Regions from separate parts of the Homo sapiens genome. Here regions 1, 2, 4, 5 and 6 are each linked to region 3. The links are contacts of gene promoters, found by promoter capture Hi-C in blood cells and fetal thymus (Javierre and others, 2016). All regions are on one chromosome and are shown on one strand. Each heading gives the region's core, a stretch centred on a gene start or on the middle of the fragment in contact. The rest is flanking DNA. Distances are from core to core; before and after follow the strand shown. Region 1 overlaps TAB2 (TGF-beta activated kinase 1 (MAP3K7) binding protein 2). Region 2 has its middle 15 kb from the start of ZC3H12D. Region 3 holds the start of UST (uronyl 2-sulfotransferase). Region 4 overlaps PPIL4 (peptidylprolyl isomerase like 4). Region 5 has its middle 18 kb from the start of SUMO4. Region 6 overlaps PPIL4 (peptidylprolyl isomerase like 4).

Region 1 (2,700 bases), core at 10-2,509, 630 kb before region 3:
ATCGCTGGGCCCAGGAGTTTGACACCAGACTGGGCAACATAGTGAGACCCTGTCTCTAAAAAAAAATCTTGTTTTTAATTAGCCAGGTAGAGTAGGACACCTGCAGCCCCAGCTACTCAGAAGGCTGAAGTAGCAGGAGCACTTGAACCCAGGAGGTTGAGGCTGCAGTAAGCCATGATCATCCCACTGCTGCATTCCAGCCTGGGTGAGAGCGAGACCCAGTCTCCAAAAAACATAAAATGGATTTCATCTTCATTCTTAGCAGCAATTCTTCCTTGAATGCTTGCTCTCTTCAACTATTTGGTTACATTCTGCACAGAAGAGGCAGGATAAAAAAATTCTTTTCACTAGTTTTCAGAGTAACAAATTTGGTCCCTAGCAACCTCCAAAGGTGACTATGATTTATTTTTAGTATCATTATAAACTCATGTGTCTTTAATATTTTGATGTGTTTCAATCAGTTTTGGTCATTATGTCCCCTCTTCAAGTTACTGGGAACAGCTTCAAGTTGGCTCCTCGGTATACGACATGAATCCAGTAGTTTTTCAAAGCTTCTCTGCTTTCTGATATGACAAGATGTTCTAGCTTATCATGTACATCTACTCCAGACTTGCAATCAGCCATTTCTCAAAGCAGCCCTGGTTACTTTTAGTGAGAAAGGGTAGAAGACTCTCTTGAAGTGTATCAAAAGGGGTGGGATATGAGTTTTTAGAAGGTGGAAAATCACTGCTTTTTGGTATACAGCCACAAATCTGCATTCTCCTCAAAGCTATAAAAAGGTCTGAATCATTAATTCCAGTTCCTCTTTCATTTTTCCCCAAACTCCTGCACAGACACAGAAATTACAGATAGTATCAAAGCATATATACCCTATGGCATTCATTCACTCCTTTAACCAACATTTACTGAGCATTCATTAGCAAGGAGAAAGGAATATGATCGCTGATCGCAAGAATCTCAGTCTAGTGGAGGAGAATAATGTGAACACAAATGAAATGCAGTATGGTAGGTGTTATCATAGAAATATGGATAAGGACAATGGGTGAAGGTCATCTGAGAAGGTTCCACTAAGTACATGGCACTTAAATATTAAGTGTTGCATATACTGAATGAAAAATACTTAATGCAGTACTTTGAAAAGAAATACCAATTTTAAACTTACAGATTCAATCGTCATGTTAAGAGAATTTAAAAACGGTAAAAAATTAAGTTAAAAAACCAAAGTGAAAACTATGCAATATTTTCACATTCTTCTAAGTTTTCAGATTTAATTACCAAATATAAAAATCAACTTTAAAGATATAAATTACACCTGCTGGTTATAAGTTATCTTACAGAATTCACAGCAGAAGGAAAAGATATGAGTAGTTCCAAAAAGAGGGAACTGTGCAACAGATAAACTTAAGAGAAAAGAGGATAGACACTTTTGTTCTCTCCCTGACAAGCAAGATGTTTAAAAAGAACAGGTACACAGAATTGGTAGCATGGCATGATCCTTTACTAATTTTAAAAAGTTCTGAACCAGTATACTGCAGGAAGGATCTGTCAAAAGAACAGAAACCCACCCAACTGAGAAAGGAAGAGCAGCCCCAAAAGAGACGCTGTCATTTAGAGGTAGCTTAATTTGCCCGTTTAAAAATATTGCTCTAAATTTGGGAAAACTTGCACCCCAGCTGAAACCACAGAGGAAGGAGCTCTTCCTATTCCTTTCTTGTCAGATTTCTTGTTATATCAGCTAAAAAGTACATTACCTGGATACCCTAAATTATTATCAACTCACTTTTAAAAAGTGTGGTCTGTTTCAGGCAAGCAAAGTATTTCATTTTCATTAACACCAGGTGTTGGGAAGCATGCTAAGTAGAGGAGTTTGCTTTTGTAAAGCCAGATTAACATAGGGAAGGTGATATTACTAGATGCCCAAAGGAAACGGAAAACCATTCATTTTTTATTTTTGGGTTAAAGCTTAATTATTTTATTTTTAAATAGATAATTTATTAACACAGATTAAAACAATAAAAAAAAGATACCTGTTGAGAAGTCTGAGTCCTAACTCTGTCCCATCAGGCCTGTTCCCTCTGGCCTACCATGGATAAACATCTTTTATTAATTTTGTTTTTAATTCTTCCAGTATTTCTTTATGCAAACAGAGACAAATACATGGATGTGTAAATATTTATTTGTCTTGCTCTGTCTATATACTCTGCTCTGCATCTTGTTTTTCTTAACACATACCAGAGATTATACTGTAAGAGTACATTAGAGTGCTCTATTTTTTTTTTGAAAATATTTTAAAGTAATTCTACAAAAGGCTCTATGTTTTACTCCCAGTTACGGTATTTCAAAATCTCTATACCTGTACTATATGTAGGGAAATGCTCTGGACAGTTCTTTCAATACGAAGTCTACAGAAATTTATCAAAGAACTTACAGTATCTTTCTGTTAGTTTTTTAATAACCTACTGAACAGCATAGCTTTATTTTACCACAAAATTCTCTTTTACTTGAAAAGTTAGGGAGAAGTTACTTGGGTTCTAGGGGGGAGACTATTTTTCCCCACTATCTCCGCTCCTTTCCCACACTTTCTTTTAACTTCTGACTCCATCTTTATTACATGTTTTTATTCTCTCATTTTTTTTTCACATTTTATATTAACAAATGTAAACCACTGATTCATTTACCAAATATACCTTATGGGCTTTC
Region 2 (2,700 bases), core at 149-2,648, 750 kb before region 3:
ATCCCAAATATGTAATTCTGGAAAGAATAATTTTAAAAACCTTTAAAAGATATTTATTTACATTTTGTTTGTTTGTTTGTTTTGAGATGGAGTCTTACTCTGTTGCCCAGGCTGTAGTGCAGTGGCACAGTCTCAGCTCACTGCAACATCTACCTCCCAGGTTCGAGTGATTCTCCTGCCTCAGCCTCCCAAGTAGCTGGGACTACAGGTGTGCGCCACCATGCCCGGCTAATTTTTGTATTTTTAGTAGAGATGGGGTTTCACCATGTTGGCCAGGCTGGTCTCAAACCCCTGACTTCAGGTTATTAACTTTTTTTTTTTTTTTTTTTTTTTTGAGATGGAGTCTTGCTCTGTCACCCAGGCTGGAGTGCAGTGGCACGATCTTGGCTCACTGCAAGCTCTGCCTCCCGGGTTCACGCCATTCTCCTGCCTCAGCCTCCCGAGTAGCTGGGACTACAGGCACCCGCCACCATGCCCAGCTAATTTTTTTTGTATTTTTAGTAGAGACGGGGTTTCACTGTGTTAGCCAGGATGGTCTCGATCTCCTGACCTCGTGATCTGCCTGCTTCAGCCTCCCAAAGTGCTGGGATTACAGGCATGAGCCACTGCACCTGGCTGATTATTCACATTTTTAAAAGAGGATTTGAGAAATACAAACACAGGCCACTTTACACAATAAAATAGGCAACAATAACATACGTATGTTTGCAAGCATAAGCAGTTCTCAGCTCTACTAATGACAGTCACATGGGTATGACAGTTATGAACAGATGAGTGGTATTTATAAAGAAATAGGTCAAAAAGGGAAATGTATCAATGCATAGCCCTGTGGTTGGTAATTGTGTATGCTCAGCTTTATAACTGCAGTCATTTGAAATACTTTAAGAACAACCAGTGTCTTCCACTGGCTTCACTCAGATGCTAATCTCTGGAAACACTTGCACAGACACACTCAAAACACTAATAAGTTTCTAGGTGTTCCTTAATCCAATCAACTTGACACCTAAAATTAAGTCCCAAAGAACACCTCTTATCAACTCAGCACCCATACATACCTCCTTAAACCGTACTTAATTTCCAAATAAAGACAATGAGAAAGTTGTAGTTCTACCTATCATGATGCCAGTATCCTCTGATTGTGATTTTTGGGATTTTAGACATTATGGATTTTAGATTAGGCATTTTGATCTTTTGGGATTTCACCATTCAGGATTAAGGTGTTCGAGATTGTGTCTTACAGGATTATAAACCAAATCCCTTTTTGGGATTGGGTTTGTTTTGCCCCAGTCAGCCTTATTCTTCAGAGATTCTTCCAGTTTGTTGCTGTATCAATAGTTCACTTTTATTTTATTTTGTTTTATTTATTTATTTGGGATGGAGTCTCGTTGCCCAGGCTGGAGTGCAGTGGCGCCATCTCAGCTCACTGCAGCCTCTGCCTCCTGGGTTCAAGCAATTCTTCTGCCTCGGTCTCCCTAGTAGCTGGGATTACAGGCGCACACCACTATGCCTGGCTAATTTTTGTATTTTTAGTAGAGACGGAGTGTCGCCATGTTGGCCAGGCTGGTCTCGAACTCCTGACCTCAGGTGATCCACCCGCCTCAGCCTCCCAAAGTGCTAGGATTACAGGTGTGAGCCACTGTACCTGGCCAATAGTTCACTTTTATTGTTGAGTAGTATTTCATGGTATGAATATACTGTAGTTTGTTTAACCATTCACCCATTGAAGGACATCTGGGTTGTTTACAGTTTGGGACCGTAATGAGTAAAGCTGCTGTTAGTTTCTTTGTGAACACAGTCTTCATTTCTTCTGGATAACTGCCCAGTAGTGCAGTTGTTAGGTCATATGATAATTGCATATTTAAAGAAACTGCTGAACTGTTTTCCTGGGTGAGTCAGACTGCTTTACATTCCCACCAAGAACATATGGGCGATCCACTTCATCCGCATTCTCAACAACATTTAGTTGTGTCTCTGTGTTTTATTTTAGGCATTCTGGTAGGTATATAGTGATAGATATATAACTTACTCTGGTTTTAATTTTTATTTCTTTAATTGGTAATGTTGTTGAGTATCTTTTCATGTACTCATTTTGCCATCTGCATATCCTGTTAGGTGAAATGTTACTTTATATCTAATTGGATTTTTAGGTTTTTTTTTATTTTTGAGTTTTGAGAGTTCTTTATGTATTCTACATACTAGTTCTTTGTCAGATATGTTGCTTGCAGCTGTTTCCTCCCAATATATAGCTTGTCTTTCTTTTTTTTTCTTTTTTAAGACAGTCTCGCTCTGTCACTCAGGCTGGAGTACAGTGGTGAGATCACAGTTCACTGCAGCCTCAACCTCCAGGGCTCAAGCAATCCTCCCACCTCAGCCTCTTAGTAGCTGGGACTACAGGTGCCTGCCACCACAGCCAGCTAATTTTTTTTTTTTATTATTAGTGGAAACGAGGTCCCTATGTTGCCCAGGCTGGTCTCAAACTCCTGGTCTCAAGCAGTTCTCCCGCTTTGGCCTCCCAAAATGCTGGGATTACAGGTATGAGTCACCATGCCTAGCCTCCAATGTATGGCCTGTCTTTTAATAGAGTTTTGTAGAGTACAAGATTTTAATTTTTCTGCAGTTTATCAGTTTTTCCTTTTATGGATTGTGCTTTTGGTGTCAAAAGTAAGAACTCTGCCGAGCACTAGCTTCCGAAATTTTTCT
Region 3 (2,700 bases), core at 96-2,595:
CACAGCGCCGAGGATCCTCGGGTTACTGGGGGCGACACTGCTGGCCAGGCTGACCAGCGCCCTCGGGCATCCCCAAACCCCTGGATGCAACCCGTTCCCCGCGCCAGGCTAGCTGCGGGCGGCGGGGTGGGCAGCGGCAGCCAAGGGACAAGCCAGCCCGGGGACAGCGCGGAGCCACTAGGGCCGGCGGGCAGGCGGGGGATCTGCGGGACAGAATTCTCAGAGCGGACGGTGGCAAAGGGCTAAACCCACCCACACTCCCCGGGGCGCGGGACGGGACTGAACTGCGGTCACTAACAATGCAACGAAGAGGACCTTCCCTTCCCTTCGCCACTCCCCGCGCCGCCAGGCCTGAAGATACACACACTCCGGCACACCCCACACACCCATCCACTCCGCCCCAGTCCGGATCCGGGTGGCGGAGGTGGGGCGGGGGGAAGGTGAGCGGTGCCTCGCCCCGGGGTACCTGCCGGCAGCGCAACCCAGCGGCGCCCCCGCCTCGGTGAGGACAGTCGGACGCGCGGGAGGAAGAAGGCGCTCCCGACCGCGGCACAGATGCTCACGGGCTTAGCACCTGGAGAGACCCGGGGCGGCGGCGGCGCGCGGTGGCAGCGCGAGAAGTCCCCGCCGCGACCCTCTCCCCGCCGCACAACTTTGCGCTGTCGGCGCCGCCCTAGCGCCTGCCCAGCTTCCTTACCCAAGTACTGCCGCAGGTCGAGCAGGAAGCGAGGGGGTCCCCCGCTGAGCTGATAGAGGAGGGAGCCCAGGCAGAAGACCAGCAGGGTGGCCATGCAGAAGCCGTAGTCCCGGAGGGAGAAGCGCAGGAAAGGCAGCAGGGGCACCCGACGCTTCCAGCTGCCCAGGCCCGGAGGGGCGCCCCCCATAGGGGCCCCATGGGGCCAGGGATCCGCGCCGCCGCCGGGATGCTGCTGCTTCTTCTTCATCGCCTGCTCCGCTGCCTCCCACAGCCTGCCCGTGCCAGGAAAAGGTCACCCATCCGCCGCGAGGAGGAGAGCCCGGCTGGCCGGCTGCACATGGGGAGGGCCGCGCGGAGGGCAGCCGGGTGGGGGCGGGGAGGGGCCGAAGTTGCCGGGCTCAGGAGACTTTCTTCGGCATGGTCCCCGCCGCCGCGGCCCGAGCGGCCGAGGTGTCCGGCCCCGGTTCGGGGCGCTGCCCGTGACGGGGCGCCGCGCCCGTCCGGCGCCCGCTAGCGTCCCCACGCCCCGCGCCCCGCCGCGCCTCGGGCTCGCTTGCGGCCGCCGGGGCTCGCCTCCAGCGCCAGCGTGGACCCCCCGGCTTTGTGTCTGTAGGTCTCGGCGTGTTTTGTCCCGGTTCAGGCTTCTCTAAAAAACGGCAGGGAGGAACAGGAGGCGGACACCATCCCCTCGCTCCACCTCCTTGACAGGGGTTTTCCTCCTTCTCCTCCCCTTTCTCCCTCCGGCGCTCCGCAGCACTCTCCTCCCTCTCCCCTCCCTCTCCGCTCGGGTCTCGGGATTTCGCTCGGGTGTCACGTTACTGCTTCTGCTGGGGGCGGAGGGGGGGAGGCGGCGATTATTCGCAACAAGGAAGAAAGTTTCTGGGTGTTTTCTTTTTTTTTCCTTCCCCCGTTCTTTACAATCTGGATGCGGTTCCTGCGCCACCAGCGACCTCTTGGGGGCCCCGCTGACTTCCCTCTTGTAAACAGTCACCGGCAGGAAGAAGCACGACTGACTTTACTATTTACATTTTTTTCAGTTCAGAAAGTTGATTCTCCTTATATACCCCGTGCGAGCTGCTTACCCAAGGCTGATAAAAGGTACTAGAATACAGGCTCAAGACTTTGCTGAAATGGGAAAAGAGCAAGCGGTGCGAGTTATGGTCAAACACGCCCCAGAGGGCCAGGCGCAGCGCCTGAACTCCCGGGTAGGGTAGCCGAAGAGGACGCTCTGTTCTTGCTTTTCCTGGTCCTACAACTGCTCCACCTCGCAGTGCCCAGAGAGGCAAGTGGGGGGTGCATAGCGGACTCTAGGAGGTCATTGCCCTGCAGACATGAAGGGGAAAGAGCCCAGTCCGCCTATACGCTGATTTCATTGCTGCCTCTCTTCCCTCCACGGGAAAGCCTCTGGACCTGAAAGAACCTCCTGGGGCAGAAAAGGCTCAATCCTAGACATAGATCCTCTGATGGGGTGGTTGATCCACGGAAGGGCTGCTCTGATCAGCCACACTTTAAGTAAGAATACTATATCACTATTTATAGAAGCTGTAGCACCTGAGGGCTGTGTGACTCACCCGAGGTCCCAAAGCTAGTAGTAGGAGTTGGGTTGGGAGTTGCACTCAAATCTATTTGACCCTCAGACCCACTATACTAACCACTGCACAGCAGTACTTCCCAGCCAGAGCCCTTTTCCTTCACGTCCCATAGGAGGATGAGATTTAATTCATTTAGTTCAGGCCACATTGAGAAATGGAAACCTCAGTTTCTGGTGCCTATCATTTCTGGCTCCCTACTCATTTGTATATTCCAGTAATGAACAATTGGATTTAAGAAGGAACCAGGAGCCAAGAACCTCTATGATTCTAAGACTAGGCTCCTGAAAACCTTCATCAAGTTAGGCATCTGAAGAATATTCTGTGGAAAATTACAAAATATTATCCTAGACAAAGAACTTACTCGTTAAGAATATGTCTTAACCTCAGCTACTCAGGAGGCTGAGGCAGGAG
Region 4 (2,700 bases), core at 138-2,637, 780 kb before region 3:
ATGGTATATTAGTTCTGTAATTAACATTGTGCTTACAGTGTTAAATTTGAGCTTGATTTATATTAAAATTCAAAAATTTCAAAGCTTGAACTTAAACATTTATATATGTATGAGTATGCATACATTATTCTACAGTAATGTTAGATGTTAGATATTCTATAATTCGACTATATTTGGACTAGAAAAGTGTTGTGATTTTAAAAGTCTTTAGCAGTAGTTTACTTTTGCCAAAGGAAAATTAAATATTTTTATTCTTACTTCAGTGCTTAAGGGAATTTAGGACTGTAGGCCTATATAAGGCACTTAGAGTAGAATTTAGATAATTTAGTTACTGCTCTGGTGAACTACTTTTAAAAAAGAATTGTTATTAAATGAATTTGGAAAAATAATCTATGAATTTAACTTTGCCTTGTAGTAACTGACTTATTTCTTCTTCAGTTTTGAAGAGTGAGAGTGAATGCTTTCTTCCTTTTTTTTTTTTTTAAGTCACTTTTAAATACTTTCTTTCAGTTGTGAAGTTATCCGAGACTGGAAGACAGGAGAGTCCCTCTGTTACGCTTTTATTGAATTTGAAAAGGTATGTCATAATACAGACATAAGTTTGGTATTTATTTGCTTTTATATGGTATTAAAATGTGAAAAATTATAGAACTTTTTCTAGTTTCTAGAGTTGCCCTTTCTTTTGGCACTCCCCAAAATTAAGTTTATTGTATCTATATAGGGGATAAGTTCAACATCTGTTGATGTTAACATACGTACTTTTACTTTAGGTTCAGGTGCAATCTGCATGAAAGTATCTTTAGAACTTTTTTTTTTTTTGAGACAGGGTCTCACTCTGTTGCCCAGGCTGGAGTGCAGTGGCGCAGTCTCGACTCACTGCAGCCTCCGCCTCCTGGTTCAAGCGATTCTCTTGCCTCAGCCTCCCCAGTAGCTGGGATTACAGGTGCCCACCACCATGCCCTGCTAATTTTTTTGTATTTTTAGTAGAGACAGGGTTTCACCATATTGGCCAGGCTGGTCTTGAACTCCTGACCTCAAGCAATCCACCTGCCTCGGCCTCCCAAAGTGCTGGGATTATAGGCATAAGCCACAACACTCAGCCAATCTTAGAACTTTTTAAGTTCTAAGTAAAGCCCTTCAGAGACTCTTAATTTTTCCCTGTTACTTAAGTGGAGATAAAGTTGAGTAATAGAAAGAGAACTGAACTGGGTGTTAAGATTTAGATATTAATACATCTTTTGTTATTAGCCAGCTATTGTATGATACTTGGCAGTTTAGTTAACCGTTCTTTCTAGGTCTTACCTTCTTATAAATAAAACTTGGGTATTAGAATAGATGGCCCCTTCTAGAGCTGTAATAATGATAGCTTATGTTGCTTAAATATTTACTTTAAGCTAGGCATTATGTTACTTTTGCTGCATTTAATCCTCACAGTTCTGTAAGATAGGGACCATCCCCTTTTCCAAATAAGTTAACTGAGACACATAATGCTAATGTGACTTGTTCAAAATCACACACCTAGTGAATGAATGTCATAGCTGGGATTTGAACTCAGATATGTCTGATTCTGTTCCCATTGAGTTTACACTGTGCTATGGTATGCTCTTTTTTAATGCAACTTTGGACTCATATGTATCCAGTAGTAGCTCATTCTAAGTTCTAATTATTACAAAGCATTTATGGAATACCTTTTATGTTTTCAGACACAGCAATAAGGCCTAGGGATACAAGATGAATCATGGAGGGTTGGGGAAGATAGACCATAAAGTTATATGTAGGCACTGTGTCAGATGTACCAGAAATGATACTTACAAGGTACATTGGTGCCAGCAGAAAGACCTTTACCTTTGGTTTGCTGTGAAAACTTGTAGACCTGCACTAGCATTCTATCATTGACACTATAGAATCTATTATTTATTTTCTCACAAATAAAATTTCATTTGTAGCACATAGACTAATGACTGCCCATGTTTTGAGTTTTTTGCAGCTATGCCATTTTCTTCTTTTTTTTTTTTCTTTTTATTTTTTTGAAACAGAGTTTTGCTTTGTCACCCAGGCTGGAGTGTAGTCGCATGATCTCAGCTCACTGCAACCTCCGCCTCCCAGTTTCAAGCGATTCTCATGCCTCAGCATCCCAAGTAGCTGGGATTACAGGTGCTTGCCACCACACCTGGCTCATTTTTGAATTTTTAGTAGATACAGGGTTTTATGATGTTGGCCAGGCTGGTCTTGAACTCTTGACCTTAAGTGATCCACCTGCCTTGGCCTCCCAAAGTGCTGGAATTATAGGCTTGAGCCACTGCACCTGCTGTTTTACTTTTTTATTGATCTCTAAGGATTCTTTATATTTTCTGGATGCAAGCTCTTTTTTGATTATGTGTGATACAGATATCTTCTCTGTGGATTTCCTTTTACTTTTTTTTTGTTTTTTAAGGGACAGGATCACTCTGTGTTGCCCAGGCTGGACTTGAGCTCATGGGCTCAAGTGATTCTCCAATTTTAGCTCCTGCATAACTGGGACCACAGGCATGCCTTTTTCCTTTCTTAATGGTGTCTTTTTATAAACAAATTTCTAATTTTAATGGTTCAGGTTGTCAGTATTTTTCTTCCTTTTTAGTGGCCTATTTAAAAAATATTTTCCTACTTCAAAGACATGAGGATATTCTCCTGTATTATTTTTAGAAGCTTTGTTGTGAAATT
Region 5 (2,700 bases), core at 87-2,586, 670 kb before region 3:
CAAATTCATAACGTAACAAAATTTGTTGCCCACCTACTATGTGCCAGACCTAAGCTGGAAGCAGGGTATAAAGCAGTGAAGAAAATGAGAGAATGTGGCTAAGATTAGGAAGACTAGCAAAAGGAGGAAGTAGCAAATTCAAAATGTGAAATTTTTGAAATATAAAGATGATTGTGCAGATTGAGAACTGAGAAATTACTATTGCTACCTTAGCACAAACTGGAATCAAAAGGACAAAATGACAGTTGGCCTAAGGTTTTCAGTGAGTACTACTTATTCTTTACTCGTTTCCAAATTTGGGAGCCCCTTGTTTCTTGTAATGTGAAGCCAGTAGTTACCTGTTAACTGTTAGCATATTAATAATAAACAGAGGCCAGGCGCAGTGGCTCATGCCTGTAATCCCAGCACTTTGGGAGGCCGAGGTGGGCGGATCACTTAAGGTCACGTGTTCAAGATCAGTCTGGCCAACATGGTGAAACCCCGTCTCTACTAAAATACAAAAATTAGCTGGGCATGATGGCAGGTGCCTGTAATCCTAGCTACTCAAGAGGCTGAGACAGGAGAATCGCTTGAACCCAGAAGACAGTGGTTGCAGTGGGCCGAGATCGCGCCACTGCACTCCAGTCTGGGTGGCTGAGCTAGACTCTGTCTCAAAACAAAAACAAAACAAAACATAATAAACAGTAGAAAAGAAAGAGATTATGGTTAATAAAGAGAGCAATACAGGTGGAAGTTTAAAAATCTTTGCTGTGTGTTTTTGTCATTCGATATTGAATATAATCATGCTTTGAGATACTTCATAACAAAAATCACCTATTATCATTCACTGGAATGGAAACTGCATATATTGCTTCTCATTCATTACCTTAGCAGAGCTTGGTTGTCTGGGTTAGCAAATTGGTGTTCTAAGATGTGTATGCTGTTTTATTACAAAAAGAATTTGGCAGTTCAGCAAAAGGGCACGTGAAAGACTTGTGTTAAAAACCAAAAGGTAGTAGTTAAGACTTCAATTCAGATTAATAAAATGTGGGCTTGTTTCATGTCACTCACTCTCAGGCAATGTGTTGGCTATCAGACCCAGTGGAGTTTAACCAGTGAGAGTCCCTGCTCTCTGCTGCTCATCGTTTAGTCAGAAGCCTGTCTCTTCACCTTTCTTGGGAAAGAATAAGACAGGATTTTTACATACTTTGCATTTAATTTTCTTCTTTCTTTCCTCTTCTCTTGACCAGTGTTCTCCAGAAAAATATTCTCCCATGTCCCTCTGCTTCAATTTTGAAGAAAAACAAAAAAGGACATTCATTATGTCTAAGAAGAAGCCACTCAAACACTTTGGTCCATGAAAAAGCAAACTTTAAAATTTGAAGTAAAGTTAGATGTAACAGAGGCCTCAGGTTGAAATGCCAATTTCTGAATTTTCCAGAATATCCACAAAGATCTCTACTTCTTCATCCCCCTCTGGCACCACACAGAAGATACCAGAAACATTATTTTTGGGTTTCATTGTTACATTTATCTATCCCAATAGTATGATTGTGCCTTATTTCAGTTTTCCAAATGCAAAGCGTTCCAGCTAATTAGTGGGCTGGCCTGGGAACCTACTGCTTCTAATACTAGTTCTAGGGGAAAATACATACTACATTCAAAATGGCTGTACCCACTGGTTAACTTGAATAAATGTTAGAAATTAACTTGGCCTTCATGTTAAGAGTCGTTATCATCAAGTCTGGGTGCGGTGGGGCACGTTTGTAGTCCCAGCTACTTGGGAGGCTGAGGTGGGAGAATAGCTTGAGCCTAGAAGTCCAGGATGGGCAAAACAGTGATACCCTATCTTAAATAAAAAAAGAATCATCATCAACTACTGACCTTTTGCCATGTATGAAGTTATTTGCTATGGGGACACAAAGACACACCTGTCCTGACAGTCATACCTTGGAGATATTGCAGGTTTGGTTCCAGACCACCATAATAAGGTGGGTATCACAATACAGTCAGTCACATGAATTTTTTGGTTTCCCAGTGCACATAAAATTGTTTACACTATTCTGCAGCCTATTAAGTGTGCAATAGCATTATGTCTAAAAACAAAATGTACATTCCTTAATTAAAAATACTTTATTGCTAAGAAATGTTAACAATCATCTGAGCCTTCAGCAAGTCATAATCTTCTTGCTGGTGGAGGGTCTTGATGGCCGCTGATTGATCAGGGTGATGGCTGCTGACCGATCAGGGTGGTGGCTGCTGAAGGATGGGGTGACTGGGGCAATTTCTTAAAATAAGACAACAATGAAGCTGGCTGCATCGACTGACTCTTTCTTTCATGAAAGATTTCTCTGTAGAATGTGATGCTGTTTGGTAGCATTTTACCCACAGTAACGTGGAGTCAATCCTCTCAAACCCTGTGGCTGCTTATCAACTAAGTTTATGTAATATCCTAAATCCTTTGTTGTCATTTCAATAGCGTTCACAGCATCTTCGTCAGGAGGAGATTCCATCTCAAGATACCACTTTTTCTCGTCCATAAACAGCAACTCTTTATTTGTTCAACTTTGATCATGAGAGTGCAATTCAGTCCCATCTTCATGCTCCACTGTTAATTCTAGTTCTCTTGCTATTTCCACACCTGCGGTGACTTCCTCCACTGAAGTCTTGAACCCCTCAAAGTCATCCACGAGGGTTGAAATCAACTGCTTTCAAACTCCT
Region 6 (2,700 bases), core at 29-2,528, 800 kb before region 3:
AACTTACTACTTATTATCTAAATCTCAGATCAAGCATCATCTCTTCTTTGAAGCTCTCCCTCCTTTCTAAGCAGAGTTACCTGAGGGTTCCTCTGCTGTGTCTTAGGTCTTTTATAAACCACATGACACATTTTATTTTAACATTTACCTATTATCCTGGTGTTGTTTACAAGCGTGCCCTCGCTCAAGAATGTAAACTCCAATGAGAGCAGGAACTATACCATAATTATCATCTCTATATCCTGAGTACCCAGTACAATGTCTGCTACTTTTAGGGCACACACTAGAGGTTCATTATGATGACTAATGGATATAAATGTGTTGTATTAGTTAGGACCCTTTGTTCAAGTGATAGAAACCCAACTCAAACTGGCATAAACAAAATAATTGGTTGCCTCATAATACTGGGGTAAGCTTGGATCGAGTGGCTGGATCGAGTGTTTCAAAGAATATCATAGGGAATTTTGTTTTTTATCTCTTGATTTTGCTTTTCTTTGAGTTCCTTTGACGCTCTGCCCATGTAGAGTAGCACCTGGCAAAATAAATGGGCCTCTTTTCCCAGAGTTATGAGGAAATAAAGGGGTGTAGAGCTACCCCACCCAATTAACAAGCAGTGGGTCTGCAAAGATAAGCCCATAACAATAAGTCCACCCCCTGTACATATTTGTAAGCATATGACTGGAGATGTGCTTACATGTGTACCTGCTATATTTATACTCACTTATCAATCTATGATCAACATATCCAGACTTACCTACCTTCCATTCTTTCTTCCTTTTCTTTTTTAACTTTTTATTATAGAAAATTTAAAACACAGATGTAGAGAGAATCATGTAAATGAACTCTCATGTCCACATGACCAGCTTTGTTTAACAGCTGTGAACACATAGCCAATCTTGCTTCATTTATAATACCCCCACCTCCAGTGCATCTATTTAATCTGTAATTACTTCAGTATGTATTTCTAAAATATAACGTCTCTTTAAAAAAAACAAGAAAAAATGGAACTATGAGCTTAAGTACCACATAAGTGACAGGTTAAAAAAGAAAAAAAACTTGACAGGGAAAAGGGAAAAATACTAAAGGAAAGAGAAAAAGTTGTAAAAAAGAATAAAAAAACAGAACCACAGATCTTATCACACTTTGAAAAAACTAGCAATAATTTTTAGTATCATTTAAACTTTCTTATTATCTCATAAACTTCTAAAAAATATGGTGATTTAAATTAGGACCCAAAGTCCATATATTGGTTAAAATGTCTCATATATGTTTTAATCTATTGGTTCTCCCCCTTTTTTCCTTGAAAAAATTTTGAGAAACAACCTGGGTGCTTTGTCTTGTAGAATTTCTCTTGTTTGGATTCGACTGATTATTTACTGGGTGCGTTAACATATTTTTGTGTCCCCTGTTTCCTATAAATTGTTCTTTAGCTTCAGAGCCTTGATTAGGTTCCAGTTTAATGTTTTTGGCAAGAATATTTCATATAAGATAGTGTGTACTTTCAGCTGCATCACATTCAGGAGGCACTTGATGTCTGGTTGGCTCTGTGATGTTAAAATTGGTCAGTGGGTTAAGGCCTTGTTGCGCTTATAAATTGTTCCCATCGGATTTTGATGAAAGACCTAAAGATTTTGGCAGCCATTGATGATCATTGCCTAAATTCATTATTTTTGTTTCTAGTAAAAGGACCACCCCTATCTGTTAAACATGAAGCCCAGAAATATATTCAAGAAAAACAACTGCAAGACTGATATTCAGCACTCTTCAACAGCTCAGCCCCATCTTATCTCTCCAGTCTTTTCATGCTCTATTACTGTGTAATACCAGACTATTACAGAACTTTGGTGTTTTGGACCTCCCCTAAAACATTTAAATTTCCACTTCCAGGCCTTTTCATAGTCTTCCAGACCTAAAATGCTCACCCTTCACTCTCTGCTAGTCCAGTTCTTTTAATGCTTGCCTTAACCTTCCCTGAGGTTTTCTAATTTCCCTAGCCAGAAACAATCTTTTGAACTCTTGTGGAATTTTTAAAACTACTTTTTTTACCATTTTAAATAAGTGGCACACATGTTATTAATTAGATATGCCCAGTATGTAACTACTTGTGTTCAGATGTAAGGACCCTAATTTAATGTAAGCTTTTTGAGGGCAGGGATTGCCTCATATATCTTACTGTCTGTTTGGTTTCTAACTTAGTGCCTTAAGAGCTTGTTAATGTGTCTTTCCACGACTAGACTGTGAACTTTTTGGGAGCAGGGACCACAGTTTAATGGCATTTGTGATGGCAGTGTCAGGCATCTAGAAGGTACTCAGTAAATGTTTATTGGATAAGCAGATTAACTTGTATGAGAAAGGTTGTTCATAAGTGTATGGATTTTTATAAAGGGCTGTTTAACTATTATTTAAAAAATGACCCCGGGTGTTTGACTTTTTCCTAATTGATATAATCCGTATCCATTTTTATATATTCTGCTAGATCCTTTTCTACTACAATATGCTCTTTAAGTGTTCTTTTTTCTCGTAATAAAATCAATCCATCAGTAAATGATTGCTTATAAGTGTCAGTTTTCTGTATTAGCCCAGATGCCCCAAAACTCCTATTAAAGGAAAAAAAAAGGTAATTTAAAATGTTTTTTTTCTAGACTTATTGCCCTTTTATTTTATTTTATTTTATTTTATTTTGAGATAGAGTCTTGCTCT

Evidence for each region. The method cuts DNA at HindIII sites, captures the fragments that hold promoters and counts their contacts. A CHiCAGO score of 5 or more calls a contact.
Region 1: a contact is called between a fragment that was not itself captured here and the fragment with the promoter of UST in region 3, in 2 of 17 cell types (total B cells and naive B cells). The highest score is 6.2, in total B cells.
Region 2: a contact is called between a fragment that was not itself captured here and the fragment with the promoter of UST in region 3, in 1 of 17 cell types (total B cells). The highest score is 6.1, in total B cells.
Region 4: a contact is called between a fragment that was not itself captured here and the fragment with the promoter of UST in region 3, in 3 of 17 cell types (total B cells, naive B cells and megakaryocytes). The highest score is 7.9, in total B cells.
Region 5: a fragment that was not itself captured here is called in contact with the fragment with the promoter of UST in region 3 in 2 of 17 cell types (naive B cells and total B cells); the score reaches 8.5 in naive B cells.
Region 6: a fragment that was not itself captured here is called in contact with the fragment with the promoter of UST in region 3 in 3 of 17 cell types (total B cells, naive B cells and naive CD8 T cells); the score reaches 7.4 in total B cells.

The regions. Positions count from the first base shown.
Region 1 is chr6:149,371,763-149,374,462 of GRCh38, reverse strand. The region is part of intron 2 of TAB2 (TGF-beta activated kinase 1 (MAP3K7) binding protein 2); the gene reads right to left. Among named protein-coding and RNA genes, the nearest start is that of SUMO4, 27 kb to the left of the region's middle. The HindIII fragment of the contact is 1,411 bases long and covers 554-1,964 here.
Region 2 is chr6:149,498,392-149,501,091 of GRCh38, reverse strand. No RefSeq gene overlaps it. Among named protein-coding and RNA genes, the nearest start is that of ZC3H12D, 15 kb to the right of the region's middle. The HindIII fragment of the contact is 7,040 bases long and covers 1-2,700 here.
Region 3 is chr6:148,745,675-148,748,374 of GRCh38, reverse strand. UST (uronyl 2-sulfotransferase) reads right to left here and starts at 1,345. Exons shown (of 8, transcript NM_005715.3): 1 at 698-1,345. The coding sequence starts at 944. RefSeq lists enhancers at 1-208, 1,517-1,596, 1,657-1,716 and silencers at 387-556, 857-946. The HindIII fragment of the contact is 11,485 bases long and covers 1-2,700 here.
Region 4 is chr6:149,523,020-149,525,719 of GRCh38, reverse strand. It overlaps PPIL4 (peptidylprolyl isomerase like 4), which reads left to right. Exons shown (of 13, transcript NM_139126.4): 9 at 511-577. Among named protein-coding and RNA genes, the nearest start is that of PPIL4, 22 kb to the left of the region's middle. The HindIII fragment of the contact is 2,601 bases long and covers 87-2,687 here.
Region 5 is chr6:149,416,990-149,419,689 of GRCh38, reverse strand. No RefSeq gene overlaps it. Among named protein-coding and RNA genes, the nearest start is that of SUMO4, 18 kb to the right of the region's middle. The HindIII fragment of the contact is 4,936 bases long and covers 1-2,700 here.
Region 6 is chr6:149,541,996-149,544,695 of GRCh38, reverse strand. The region is part of intron 1 of PPIL4 (peptidylprolyl isomerase like 4); the gene reads left to right. Among named protein-coding and RNA genes, the nearest start is that of PPIL4, 2.7 kb to the left of the region's middle. The HindIII fragment of the contact is 1,724 bases long and covers 417-2,140 here.